5 separate regions of the Homo sapiens genome follow, and regions 2, 3, 4 and 5 are each linked to region 1. Evidence: promoter capture Hi-C in human tissues and cell types (Jung and others, 2019). All regions are on one chromosome and are shown on one strand. The core of a region is centred on a gene start or on the middle of the fragment in contact, and the rest is flanking DNA. Distances in the headings are between cores, read along the strand shown.

Region 1 (2,555 bases), core at 40-2,539:
GGCTTCAAAGGGGCCAAGCTAAGGTTGACTCTAGTTCCTTTACCTGCCTAAGGCAAAGAAATTTGCCTCCAGTCTTGTCTGGGCCCCAAGGTGCACCTTTCATCTGTCCTGGGGATTTGGAGTTGTAATTTCCCTAGTCTCGTGGTCTCCTGATGAGTCCTGCCTATTTCCTGCCCCAATAGTGCCTGCTGCCATTCTGACAGCCACCGCAGTTCAGGAGTCAGGGATGCCTGGAGGGCGTTCAGGGAGTAATGGGGATTCCTCCAGACATCAAGGAAATTGGTTGGGCTCCCAAACCTCATCCAATGGTCCCCATCTAGAACCACAGAAAAAATATGTGGGTACTTGGAGAAAGGGTTTGACATCCGCCCCCAGAAAGGGGCCTCCTGAGAAATAAGTATTAATATTTATCAATATTTTGCAGGACCAGGCAGGGCTCTTTGCTTCCTCATATCCCTCTCTTGGGGAGTACTCTCTCTCTCTCTCAAGAGGAAGAAGGAACGATTCTCCCTGGCACGAAAGCAAAGGACACAAAGTGAAAGCCTAATGGTTGTACACCTGGTGAAGAGATGAGGGTGCCCTCTCATCTGCCCCTCAGTGTCTCTGATTCGCAACTGCCTTCGGCCGGAGGTGAAGGGCTGGGGAAAAAATCCCACACCTCAGAGTCATCTCAAAGCCACCAGGGTGCTGACAACGGCCAGCTGAGACCGCAGGACGCAGGAAAGACCCTCAGGCGAGCAGCACCTGCAGATGCCCTCCCCTGGCGAGTCTGCACCTCAGGCAGCAGCAGTTCCCGACTCAGCTGGAACTAACTCCTTCCCCGCGCCACCGCTGTCTCCAAGAGAAATTCTGCCCCTAGGGCTGGCGTCTGACCTCCAGAGACATCTGGCGCTGAAACGCTTTCATGCGCTGGGAACAGCCTTCGCCCCAGGTGCCCCTCGCCTGGCACCTTCCTAGCCACCTGCATCTGGCACCTCAGGGTAGGGGTCGGCTCTTAATCAGTACCCCACCCCGCCCCAATCTCCCCTCCTCCCGTCTCCCACTCGGCACCGGTGCCCTGGAGAGGGGCATCTCACACCGCCTCGATGCCTGCCCCTCAAAGGTACCCCTGAAGGCTCGCTTTCCTCTCGGGTGCCCTGGCCCGCACCGGGTCCACTCACCCTAGCCGGGCTCCGCGCTCCCAGGCTTGCGTTCGGGCTCGGGCTCGGGCTCGGGCTCGGGCTCGGGCTCGGGCTCGGGCAAAGCAGCACGCGCAGCTCCGGCCCTCCCCCTCGTCCTCGGAGCTCCCTCCTTTCTCTCCCTCCCACCAACCTGTTACTCCGCTGCGGAGCTCCACCCCCGCGGGCCGTCAGTGCCCGCCCCGCCTTTCCCCGCTCCGGTTGGTCCGCTTCCCGTAGGGGGCGGGGCCTCCGGTGCGGGGACCGGGACCCGGGGTCTCCAGCCGCGAAGGGCGGGCCAGGTCACGTGGACCCACGGGCTGCGGAGCGTCGGGGCGGGGCGGCGAGGGGCGCGGAGGCCATTTTGGGGGCGTCGCGGATGGTCGCGAGTGACCGCCGGCCAAGATCCCGGGAGCCGTCGGCCAGAGCATCTTCTGGGCTCTGCTAGAAAACAGCCTCCTGCCTCCCGTTTACTCCAAGGGAATCGCCGGCCAGGGCCCTTTCTGTCCTTCACCTACCTCTGCAGGAACCAGAATGCTCTTTCGTCACTTTCTGCAGAAAATATCTCCGTTGTCCCCCGACGTCAGAGCCTCCTGCACCTCAGCTCGTCTCCCTTTTCCCTGACCCGAACCAGAACCCTGATCTTGGATTCTCTTTTATCTTGTGGCCTCCGCAATCATTTTGCAGCCTGACATCTTTTTCTATGTAATATTTATCACCTTCTAGTTAATAACATAATTTTAAAAATCATTTTCATCATTTTGCCTCCCGTCCTACGATAAGCTTCACCAGAGCAAGGATCTCTTGTTCTGTGCCTTGCTTCACCCCAAACGCCTACAACAGGGACTGGTACATACTACATGCTTAATAAATATTTGTTGACTGAATGAATGGAAACCGGGGACGCAAATTTACCAAAATAGGAATGACCTTCGTTCTAAACTGAAAGGGACTCAGTTGTAAATTTACCTCAGAGTTAGCCTCTCAAAAAGTAGGGATGCTGATCCCAGTTCCTAGAAAAGAGTAAAAACTAGGGGCTCTGCAAACTGCAGGACCGCTCATACCAGCTGCAGTTAAAACAACATTAAAGCTGGCATCCTAGCTGTTAACCGTTGAGATATGTAAAAAAGAGATTGACTTCGTTTACGTTGCTGGGCTCCGGATTTTGTTCTCATTTAGTTACAACAAATATTTACCCTGTATCTATTGGAGTAGAAGAGGAATCTTCGATGCAGCACAGATTCCGGTGTATTCTCGGGAGCTGGTTTCCGCCCCTCCCCAAGCCTTCAAAAGCTAGGTGTGGGTCCTACAGAGTAAAGTCCACTTACCAGCTCCTCAGCTGGGATGCAAAGTCTCTGCATTCCAGAGCAAGCTGTATATAAGGATTAGGGCCATCAA
Region 2 (2,555 bases), core at 24-2,523, 210 kb before region 1:
GGGATCACAGGCGTGAGCCAACGCATCTGCCTGGCCAACTTTTTTTTGTTTGTTTGCGATGGAGTTTTGCTCTTGTTGCCCAGGCTAGAGTGCAATGGAGCAATCCCAGCTCACTGCAACCTTTGCCTCCTGGGTTCAAGCGATTCTCCTGCCTCAGCCTCTCAAGTAGCTGGGATTACAGGCATGTGCCACCACGCCTGGCTAATTTTGTATTTTTAGTAGAGACGGGGTTTCACCATGTTGGTCAGGCTGGTCTCGAACTCCCGACCTCAGGTGATCCACCCGCCTCGGCCTCCCAAAGTGCTGGGATTACAGGCATGAGCCACCTTGCCTGACCTCGCCAACTTTTGAGAAGACAAGGGAGGGCCCACCTCTGGCTATAAGCACACAGTCCAGAGGGGAAATGGGGACCGACTGCTTACAGCACAATACAGTGGGAAAACCAGGGGTTTGAATCCTGGTTCAGCAACTTTGGGAAGGTACTTCACCTTTCTAAGCTTAAATTTTCTCACTTATAAAATAAAAATGACAATCACCTGTCTTTTGTGGAGGTGCTGGGAGGATCAGCAAAAGTGTTCCAAGATGCCACACACTGCGTGGGCACTGAGAACACAAACACACTCCACAAGCTCGGAGCTTTGGACCAGTAACAGAAGATTGACAGCTCAATTACAATACAGTGTGGTAAGTGCTAATGTAGGGGAACAGCACAATGCCTGGAGATGGGTGCCATTATAATTATTTAAACCTTGTCTATTTGTCTATAACCAAACAGCATTTGAGATAGCTCTATTGTTTTCATCCACTGATGCTCCGTGATTTATTTTTTTAATTCTCCTTCTTCATCCCATTAGGATATGTTTCCATTCAAGCAAATGCCAGGCTGAAAGGAGGGTGGGGGAAGGAAAGAACATATTCCAGGATACGCTGGTAAATTGTCTTCTCTTCCCCAAGAAAAGAGTGGCTTCCAACCCTTGGAATTTTTCTACAGTAATGTTTTCAAGTAGGGAAGGGCCAACCAGACAACTGATTTTTGTTTTAAGTTCAACTAGTGATTTTGTTAAGCTCCTATGGTTGAGAATAGTGTTCTACACCCAGTGGATGGCTGTTGGGTTTCGCAACGCCAAATTCCCTCTTCCAAGTGTCATAAGGTATGTATTTATCCTTATGGTTAAAGTAAATGAATAGACATATTTTTAAGAATTTAGAGATAACTGAAGGAAACCTCTAGAGATAACGAAGAAAACCCTGCGTGCCACAAATCCCAGAGCCTGGAAAACCACCTACCTGAAGAAACCACTTATGAGCCACTCTACTTCTTTGTGGGTCCTTAGGTACTTTTCGTTAGCAATCCGAGTCTGAATCTGGGGGGCAAGAACAAAGGGTCACTTCCATTAGGAGACAGATTCAGGGTTCAGCCCTGGAGATGTGAAGGGCTGCGGGAAACGGCGTGCGCATTTAACCCAAGTCTTTCCCCAGGATGCTTGAAAGTTTAAGCCACCCATCTTCTTACAGATAAAATATCATTCTGCCGCTTGTTCAGGATGAGGGGCCTTTACTAAGGTCGGATGTGTCTGGCAGTAATTTCGGCCCATTTCTCTGGCCGAGTCCCTGAGTTAGTTCTTCCTGCACTCTCAGATGCCCGTCGCGCTCTGTGCTGGGATCAGACGCCTAGAGGTCCGCCGGGGGTCTCCCCTGCGCCCTCCCCACTTTATCAGGGAACAGGCTCCCGCTCCCCTTCTCTCGGCGGCTCTCTTCCCAGTCTGGGGCCCCAGTCCTGGGGCAGCTACACTTTGGTGGACGCTGGATGGGGGCGCGGGCGCACCCACCTTGAATTTTCGCAGCTGCTCCAGCTGCGCTGCGCTAAGCGCCCCGGGGTCGGGCCGCTGCAGCAAGCCTGGCAGCGTCTCCATCTTGCTGCGGTCGTCAAGGCGACCGGCCGCGAGCCGGCGAGGCCCCGCCCCCGGCCCCGCCCTGCCCCCAAGCCCGGCCCCTTCAGCGAAGCAGGGGCTAGGGGCTGAGGGAACTGAGGGGTGAGCTCCGGGGCGGGGGCTTGGGGGGTGGGTCTCTAAAGGATCGCCTTTCCCGGATTGGGGGACTGATTTCTGGACTTAATTGTATGTGGAATGAGCCCTTTTTGACCCCACCCAACTTCAGGGTTTTTTTGTTAGCTCTAGAGTAAAACAGGAAAAAAGGTCTCCCCGAATCTGCTTCCAGACTCCCTCACTTGGACAGAAGCTAGAGGAAGCCTAGTACTGGGGAAAGAGAACCCAAGCTTCTTCCCTTTCCACTGTCCCAGAAGCCAACCCGTCCCTCTGTCCGGTACACATTCGACACTGGAGCCGTGGATTCTTCAAACAACGTGGAAGCACCCCAGAACATAGAGTGAGCTGAGTTCTGCAAAGGAAGGAACGTTCTGTCCGACTAAAGATGCTGGAAAGGACCTGGGGGACATTCTGCCAGAATTTCCCCCTCTTGGACTGACTTTTTTGTGTAGATTAACTTTCTCTTCACCCTGGGCTCCTCATAAATTCTAAATTATTTTATTCCACTCC
Region 3 (2,555 bases), core at 25-2,524, 190 kb after region 1:
GAAGCAAGCTGGGCATGGTGGCGGGTGTCTGTAATCCCAGCTACTTGGGAGGCTGAGGCAGGAGAATCGCTTGAACCTGGGAGGCGGAGGTTGCGGTGAGCCAACATTGCGCCACTGCACTCCACTCCAGCCAGGGCAACAGAGCAAGACTCTGTCTCAAAAAAATAAATAAAATAAAAATAATAGTAATAATAAATAGCTAAAGCAATTTAACCCTATTCCCTACAACACCTTCTTCTCCATATGACTTGCTTCAGATGCAGGCAGTGCCTGGGTTCCTGAGAGGCCAGGGAAGAGACCCAGCTCCAGTTTGGTGGTTTCTAGTGGTAGAGCTGCTTATATAGGAGAGGAGTCTGTTTTTTCCTGCACCTCTCAACACTGTCTAGCTCCCTGAGGAGTAAAAGCTGCCGGGAGGGAGAGTCTGTTCAGTAGCAAAATCCTCTGAATACTGTGATGTGATTCTTAGCTGAGCCCTGGGAGTTTTTCTTTTGTCTGTGAGATAAAAGAGGTGATAGTATCCTTATTTGCCTTCCTGGTGCCAGTAATAATCCCAATCGTAGTTAATTGGGGCAGGCATCTGCTAAATTTTCTAGTGAGGTCTGAGACACTATTATGTGGGAGAATGTCTGAACTGTATTTCCCTTGAAAGTTTTGAAAAGTGTACTTCTAGGAGCTTTCAGTGACTTAAAAGTCTGTGGACTAGAGGGAGAGGAAAGGATGTACCAAACATAGAGACTGAGAAAAAGAAGTTGATTGTTTAAGATGATTGAGGCTATCACATGAGTTTCTAAGCAGACCTAAAAGGTAGTGGTCCCCGTTGAATCGGTGACCCTCTGATGAGAGTGCCCTACGAAGGTGTGGCAGGGAATGATTAAAGCTTCCTTCTTATTATTCCTGTGCAACTCACAGTTGCGAGTAGGGACAGATCCACATAGGCAGCCATGCTGGTTCTACTGCTCAGAGGGCACTACCTAATTTTGGGAGAGAGCATAGTGAAAGAGTTGCCACCTTCTTACCAATACCAAGCTCAATCTGCATCAGGGATATTAAATTCAGGAATGAACTTGCTTGGCAGAGTTGGCAGAAAGAAACAGAAATAGCCTTTTTTGGTGATCTCTGAGAACAGAAGAGTTCCCCATCCGTCTTTCTGCAAAACTTTAGTGGTGACTGCTGGGAGGCAGGGAGCTGGACTATATGATATTGGGCAGTTAAAAGTAACCTGGGGCCGGGCGCGGCAGCTCACACCTGTAATCCCAGCACTTTGGGAGGCCGAGGTGGGCAGATCACGAGGTCAGGAAATCGAGACCATCCTGGCTAACATGGTGAAACCCTGCCTCTACTAAAAATACAAAAAATTAGCCGGGCGTGGTGGCGGGCATCTGTAGTCCCAACTACTTGTGAGCCTGAGGCAGGAGAATGGCATGAACCCGGGAAGCGGAGCTTGCAGTGAGCCAAGATTGCACCACTGCACTCCAGCCTGGGCGACAGAGCGAGACTCCGTCTCAAAAAGAAAAAAAAAGTAACCTTAACATTTCAGACGTACAAGAACAGACACTGGAAGGGTGGTGGTGGAAAACAGCCTCCCAGAGGGACTAAAGAATCTCTAGGCCTCCTTATTCCACCTACCCAAAGTATATGCATCCAGGGTCACCGGGGTTGAAGGTGATGTCACTAATATTTTGAAATTACCTGTATTCCAACTCTACAAAATCTTTCCTCTTGCTCATGCTCTTGAGTGTGTCTTAGACTCACTCTATTAGCATTTTTGTGAAGAGGCCTCTGAGTCTGAGTCCTTTGTTAGCTATAGTCAGATTCTGGAGCCAGGTTGATCTGATGAAATTTCCCCAGTTCTGCACTGATTCCAGATTTGGTGAGGCTCTGAAGGATTGTTCTTGGAGAGCAGTGGCTTTGGTCAGCAGTGTTCTTTCATTGAACTTCCTTCCAACAGTCCCTCCAGAGGAGGTGTTCTTTGTTTTGTGACTCCTGTTCCTCCCTGTTCTTTGGAAGGCCTAGATCTATGAGTCCTAGTCTGATTTCTTTTTGCCTTTTCAATTGTCCCTCCAGTTGTTAGAATGTGTGTATGACAGTGGGGGGAGTGGTATTGGGGCAGAAAAGGCTGTCATAAGTATTTCTGGAAGATTCTCAAACAATTGGAACTCTTTGCTTCCCTTATAAAATAATATAAGTTTTATGTTACACACACACTGGTTAGTAACCTTTTAGGTGATGAGGATTCAACTAGCATTTCTTTTTTTTTTTTTTGAGACAGAGTCTCGCTGGTCTTGAACTGCTGACCTCAAAGTGATCCACCTGCCTCAGCCACCCAGTGCACTGGGATTACAGGCATGAGTCACTGTGCCCGGCCTCAACTAGCATATATTGAGTACTACTATGTATCAAAGACTGTGCTAGATTCTTTCATACACGTGATGGTATTTGTTCCACATAGCAACAATGAGAAGGAAGTGTTTTTTCCCAATTTGCAGTTGAGGATAAATGGCTTGCATAAGTTGCACATTTCTGAAAGGCTGAATGAGGATTTTCAACCCCAGCCT
Region 4 (2,555 bases), core at 32-2,531, 130 kb after region 1:
TTTCTCAGAAGGGCTGTATTGCTGCAACAACAACAACACAGCGTATGTTAGGTTCTGGGTGCTTTTCGAAGAGCTTTATGTATATCATCATGCAATTTTCAAAACACCCTATGAGGGGAATAGATATTTTATTTTCTCTCTTTTAGAGATGAGGAAACCGAGGTACAGAGAGGTTAAATTACTTGCCCAGATTCATAAAGCTAGTAACTGGTGGAAGTGGAATTCACACACACAGTCTGGTTCTAAAATTCTTGTTGTTAATCTCTTAATAATAGACCACTTCTGGCTGATGATGGTGTATAGTGGAGAGCCAGCCACCTGTAACCCAGCCTAGAATGTTTTTCTTCTCTGTAGTCTTCATGTATAACTTCTAAAGCTCTTAGGGTGGACTGAGGGGAGAGGGTATTGGCAAGACAGGGCTAGCCAGGCGACTCCGCAGCTTCTCTCTGCTGTTGGCAGCTTCACTCTCAGGGTTCCTTTCGGGCTCAACCCAGTTCTACTTAAGGATGATGAGCTCCTGGGCTTGGTTCCTGGGCTAGCTAGGTGGATCAGATAATCCCCAGTTCATAAGGAGGCTTGAGTCAAAGGCCACCTGGTGTCCCATCCTCTCATGTTTGGTTTCTCTTGGGACCCAGAAGCTCAGAAGAGGCTGTTTTTCAAGAGAACTGTTCTTTGCTGAAGTGGGCTGGGCTCAATCATTTGGGGTCACCCTGGGGACTCTCCTTCTGCCTCTTGCCTGCCTCATCCCATGGATCACCCCAACTCACCAAGCATCACTGGATCTGCTCGATCATAAGGCCCCAGTGGCAGAAGTGGTTGCAGCCAGAGAGCCCTTTCTTGTCCTAGATCCCAATCAAAGGACACTGCCTCTACCCCTCAAGTTCTATGTGCTGCCATGGCACCACCAGCTGCGCTGGACCCTGGGAGGTTCTGCAGCATGGTGACCCACCCGCACACCAGCCTTCCCTGCAGCAACCAGAACCCACTCCCTACTTCCTTGTGTTGGAGTCTCCGGTGGGCACACCTGGCTGCGTCCAAGACCAAGTCACATGCTTGCTCCTAGCAGCAAGGAGGCCTAAGGCCTGGGACGGTGAGTATCTGGCCTTTTGCCTCCCACCCAATATAGAAAGGGCTGAATGTGCTGGCCAGCCATCCAAGCAACAAAACACAAAAGCATTCTGTCTGAAGGGGCTGCGAACTTATGTGCATAGAGGTCCCAGGCCAGAGCCTGAAGCTACTGCCTGGCTTCAGATCCTGGGCTCTGCTACTCACTAGCTGTGTAACTTTGTATGAGTTGCTTCCTCTTTCTATGCTGTAACTTCTTTATCTGTAAATTGGACATAATGAAAATACCCACTTCATAGGGATGTTGTAAACCCTGTATAAGTAAAGGCAGAACATGCAAATAGCTCAGAGAAGTACTTGGCACATGGAAAGCTTTTATATGAGGTGGATGTGGTTCATTTCTCTTTCTTTATCCCTAAGTACTTCGAACAGTACCATGTATTTAATAAATGATAGCTGTTGTTATTTTATTATTACAGTTTGGGTATCCCTTATCCAAACTGCTTGGGACCAGAAGTGTTCCAGATTTCAGATTTTTTTCAGATTTTGGAATACATATATATATATTAAAATATCTTGGGGATGGGACCCAAGTCTAAACGCAAATTTATTTGTGTTTCATAAACACCTTATACACATAGCCTGAAGGTAACTTTATACAATATTTTAAATAATTTGTACATGAAACAAAGTCTTGACTGTGACCCAACACGTGAGGTCAGGCACGCAATTTGCTACCTGTGGTGTCACACTGGTGCTCAAAACATTTCAGATTTTGGAGCATTTTGGATTTCAGATTTTCAGATTAAGGATGCTCAACCTGTACCTATATCTTTTTTCTTTTTTTTTTTTTTTTTTAGACAGAGTCTCCCTCTGTCGCCCCAGGCTGCAATGCAGTGGTGCAATTTTGGCTCGCTGCAACCTCCACCTCCCAGGTTCAAGTGATTCTCCTGCCTCAGCCTCCCAAGTAGCTGGGATTGCAGGTGTGTGCCACCACGCCAGGCTAATTCTTATACTTTTAGTAGAGACAGGGTTTTGCCATGTTGGCCAGGCTGGTCTCGAACTCTTGACCTCAGGGGATCCACCTGCCTCAGCCTCCCAAAGTGCTGGGATTACAGGCGTGAGCCACCGCCTCAACCTGTACCTGTTTCTTGCCTACTTGTGCAGGTATTTCCATGGGATTGCATCCTTGAAGTGAAATTCCTAGGTAAAACAGTATGCACAGTTTAACTTTTGTGAGGTATTGACAAATTGTTTTTGTTAGTAAGGCACCAATTGACACTCTCATTAGTCCTAAATGAGTGGTCCCTTTGCCGCATAGTCTCACCAATACAAGATTTTAACCTTTAAATTTTTTGCCCATCTTATAGGCAAAAATGTTACTGTATTCTTTCACTGTTTCAATTGTTTACACATGTATTTCAAACTTAATATAAAATTTTAAAAATATGATTGATACATAATGTGAAAAATAAAAATTGCTCCCTGTA
Region 5 (2,555 bases), core at 19-2,518, 130 kb before region 1:
TATATATATCTCATATATATCTATAGCTGATATATATATCTCATATATATCTATAGCTGATATATATATCATATATATCTATAGCTGATATATATATCTCATATATATCTATAGCTGACATATATATCTCATATATATCTATATCTTATATATCTCATATATATCAGATATATATAGCATATATATGATATATATGTATCTGATATATCTATCTGATATATATCATATGCTATATATATCATATATATGATATATATATCAGATATATATGATATATATATCTGATACATATGATATATATATGATACATATGATATATATATATATATATATATATATATATATCTGATAAAGGACTTGTAGAACCAGAATGTATAAAGAACCCCTACAATAAAATAATAAGACAACCCAATTTTTTAAACGGGCAAAAGAGTTAAACAGCTACTTCATCAATGAAGACACATGAATGCCCATTAAGCACACAAAAAGCAGCTCATCATCATGAGTCATTAGGTAAATGCAAATTAAAACCACAGTAAGGTATCACTATGTCCATGAGAATGGCTAGAATTAAAAAGACTGAAAATATCAAGAGGTTATGGAACCACTGGAACTCTCCACTGCATATGATAATGTAAAAATGATATAGCCACTTTGGAAAACTGTTTGGCAGTTTTTTATAAAGTTAAACTTACACTTACCCTGCAATTCCACTTCTTGGTATATACTCAAGAGCAATGAAAACATATGTCTACATAAAGACCTGTACATTTAATATTATTTCATGGCAGCTTTAGTCATACTAGTCCAAAACTGCAAACAACCCACATGTGCATGAACAATGAAAGGATGAACAAACTGTAGTAAATCTATACAATGGACTACTACTCAGCAATTAAAAAGGGACAAATATTTGGTTTAAATAACAATGTCTGCCAATCTTAAGCACTATACTAACTGAACAAAGCCAGATACAAGAGAGTACAAATGGTATGATTCTACTTATTTGACATTCTGGAAAATGTAAAATATGGTGACAGTAAGCTGATCCGTGGTTGACAAGGGCAGTGGTAAGGGGTGAGGACTAACTGTAAAGGGCATGAGGGAACTTTTGAGGGTATGAAAATATTCTAAATCTTCATGGTGGTGGTGGTGGTTATAAGACTATGTACATTTGTCAAAACTTGTAAAAGTGGAGACTTAACATGAGTGAATGTTAATATAGGTAAACTATGTTCAATAAAGTTGATTTGAAAAGTACAATTAGTGGGCTGGGCGCAGTGTCTCATACCTGTAATCCCAGCACTTTGGGAGGCTGAGGCAGGTGGATTACCTGAGGTCAGGAGTTCGAGACTAGCCTGGCCAACATGGTGAAACACCATCTCTACTAAAAATACAAAACTTAGCAGGGCATGGTGGTGCGCACCTGTAATCCCAGCTACTTGGGAGGCTGAGGCAGAATTGTTTGAACCCGGGAGGCAGAGATTGCAGTGAGCCAAGATCACACCACTGTACCCCAGGCTGGGGGACAGAGTGAGACTTCGTCTTAAAAAATATATATAATAAAAATAAAAATAAACAAAGGTACAATTGGTAGTATTATTCCTTTTCTCAGGTTTCCAAGGTTTTAGGTAATTCCCAAAAGGTCTCAACATCCAGACTGCTCTACTTTTAGGATGTGACCTTGATTTCAACTTCTTACATGCCTTATGACTCAAAGTTAGCACTTAGGAAGCATAAAACTCTAAATTCTGTGTGTGGTTCTAAGACTACAGAAGTCCATGCTGAAATAAAACCTATATGCCATTATCTACAGCTAATTACAGATGCAACCAAGCATTATTTGATCCTCTGCAACTCTTTTAGCTTCCTTGCTTTTCTTATCTCTTCACTAAAAAGAATTTACCATAAATGTTTAGTAGCTCGTTCCTATGCAGAGGATAAATCTCAGTTTTAGAGACTGTAACTTTAGTCAACTGTTAAGCTTTAAAACCTGTAGTCTGTTTGCCAGCATCTAACAGAACCCACTGCATTTTCTACTAAGAATAATGAACATTTCTCATTATATCAACACTCCACAAATAATTAAAGGCAAATAAAGCATATTGCAACCAAAAGAAAAATTAAGTAGACTGAGCTATCAGTGGCAATTAGGCTCTGAAGAACAAAGGCATTCAGCAAAGGGGCTAGCACACATCACTAAAAATTCAAGATGGGCTTTCCTGCATAGCTACAACAGCAACAGATTAGAAATGTGTGAAACAGCTCATGGGAATTGCATTCAGGAAACTCGTGGGAAAAACCACAGTTAATCATTCACACGGATATCTCCAAAGAAAATGAAAAAGAACATGATGTGGAAAGAAGAGTAGAGACATCTAAGTTCTGAAATGGGTGAACCTCTCTATTACCCAAATATCTTGAAGGACACCATCCTTTTACATTAATCTTGCCCTATAGCACCACAGAATCAACAGTAAATAAGATACTATTAGCAAAGAGATACGGCAACCAACAAAAGAACAAACAAAAAAGAAACTAAACAAAAACTCACA

The links. The method cuts DNA at HindIII sites, captures the fragments that hold promoters and counts their contacts. A contact is called where the count stands out against the background at its distance.
Region 2: a contact is called between a fragment that was not itself captured here and the fragment with the promoter of CGN in region 1, in 4 of the 25 tissues and cell types used here (H1 embryonic stem cells, IMR-90 fibroblasts, aorta and 1 more).
Region 3: a fragment that was not itself captured here is called in contact with the fragment with the promoter of CGN in region 1 in 6 of the 25 tissues and cell types used here (aorta, bladder, heart left ventricle and 3 more).
Region 4: a fragment that was not itself captured here is called in contact with the fragment with the promoter of CGN in region 1 in 1 of the 25 tissues and cell types used here (liver).
Region 5: a fragment that was not itself captured here is called in contact with the fragment with the promoter of CGN in region 1 in 1 of the 25 tissues and cell types used here (H1 embryonic stem cells).

Annotation. Positions count from the first base shown.
Region 1 is chr1:151,510,121-151,512,675 of GRCh38, reverse strand. It overlaps CGN (cingulin), which reads right to left and starts at 1,289. Exons shown (of 21, transcript NM_020770.3): 1 at 1,161-1,289. RefSeq lists enhancers at 769-908, 1,060-1,635, 1,636-2,212 and a silencer at 1,239-1,638. The HindIII fragment of the contact is 12,501 bases long and covers 1-2,555 here.
Region 2 is chr1:151,720,895-151,723,449 of GRCh38, reverse strand. It overlaps RIIAD1 (regulatory subunit of type II PKA R-subunit domain containing 1), which reads right to left and starts at 1,928. Exons shown (of 5, transcript NM_001144956.3): 1 at 1,830-1,928; 2 at 1,288-1,364. The coding sequence starts at 1,913. RefSeq lists a silencer at 1,974-2,043. The HindIII fragment of the contact is 5,488 bases long and covers 1-2,555 here.
Region 3 is chr1:151,319,001-151,321,555 of GRCh38, reverse strand. The region is part of intron 1 of PI4KB (phosphatidylinositol 4-kinase beta); the gene reads left to right. Among named protein-coding and RNA genes, the nearest start is that of PI4KB, 7.1 kb to the left of the region's middle. The HindIII fragment of the contact is 7,586 bases long and covers 1-2,555 here.
Region 4 is chr1:151,379,971-151,382,525 of GRCh38, reverse strand. No RefSeq gene overlaps it. Among named protein-coding and RNA genes, the nearest start is that of SELENBP1, 8.5 kb to the right of the region's middle. The HindIII fragment of the contact is 4,780 bases long and covers 1-2,555 here.
Region 5 is chr1:151,639,389-151,641,943 of GRCh38, reverse strand. The region is part of intron 2 of SNX27 (sorting nexin 27); the gene reads right to left. Among named protein-coding and RNA genes, the nearest start is that of SNX27, 29 kb to the right of the region's middle. The HindIII fragment of the contact is 4,881 bases long and covers 1-2,555 here.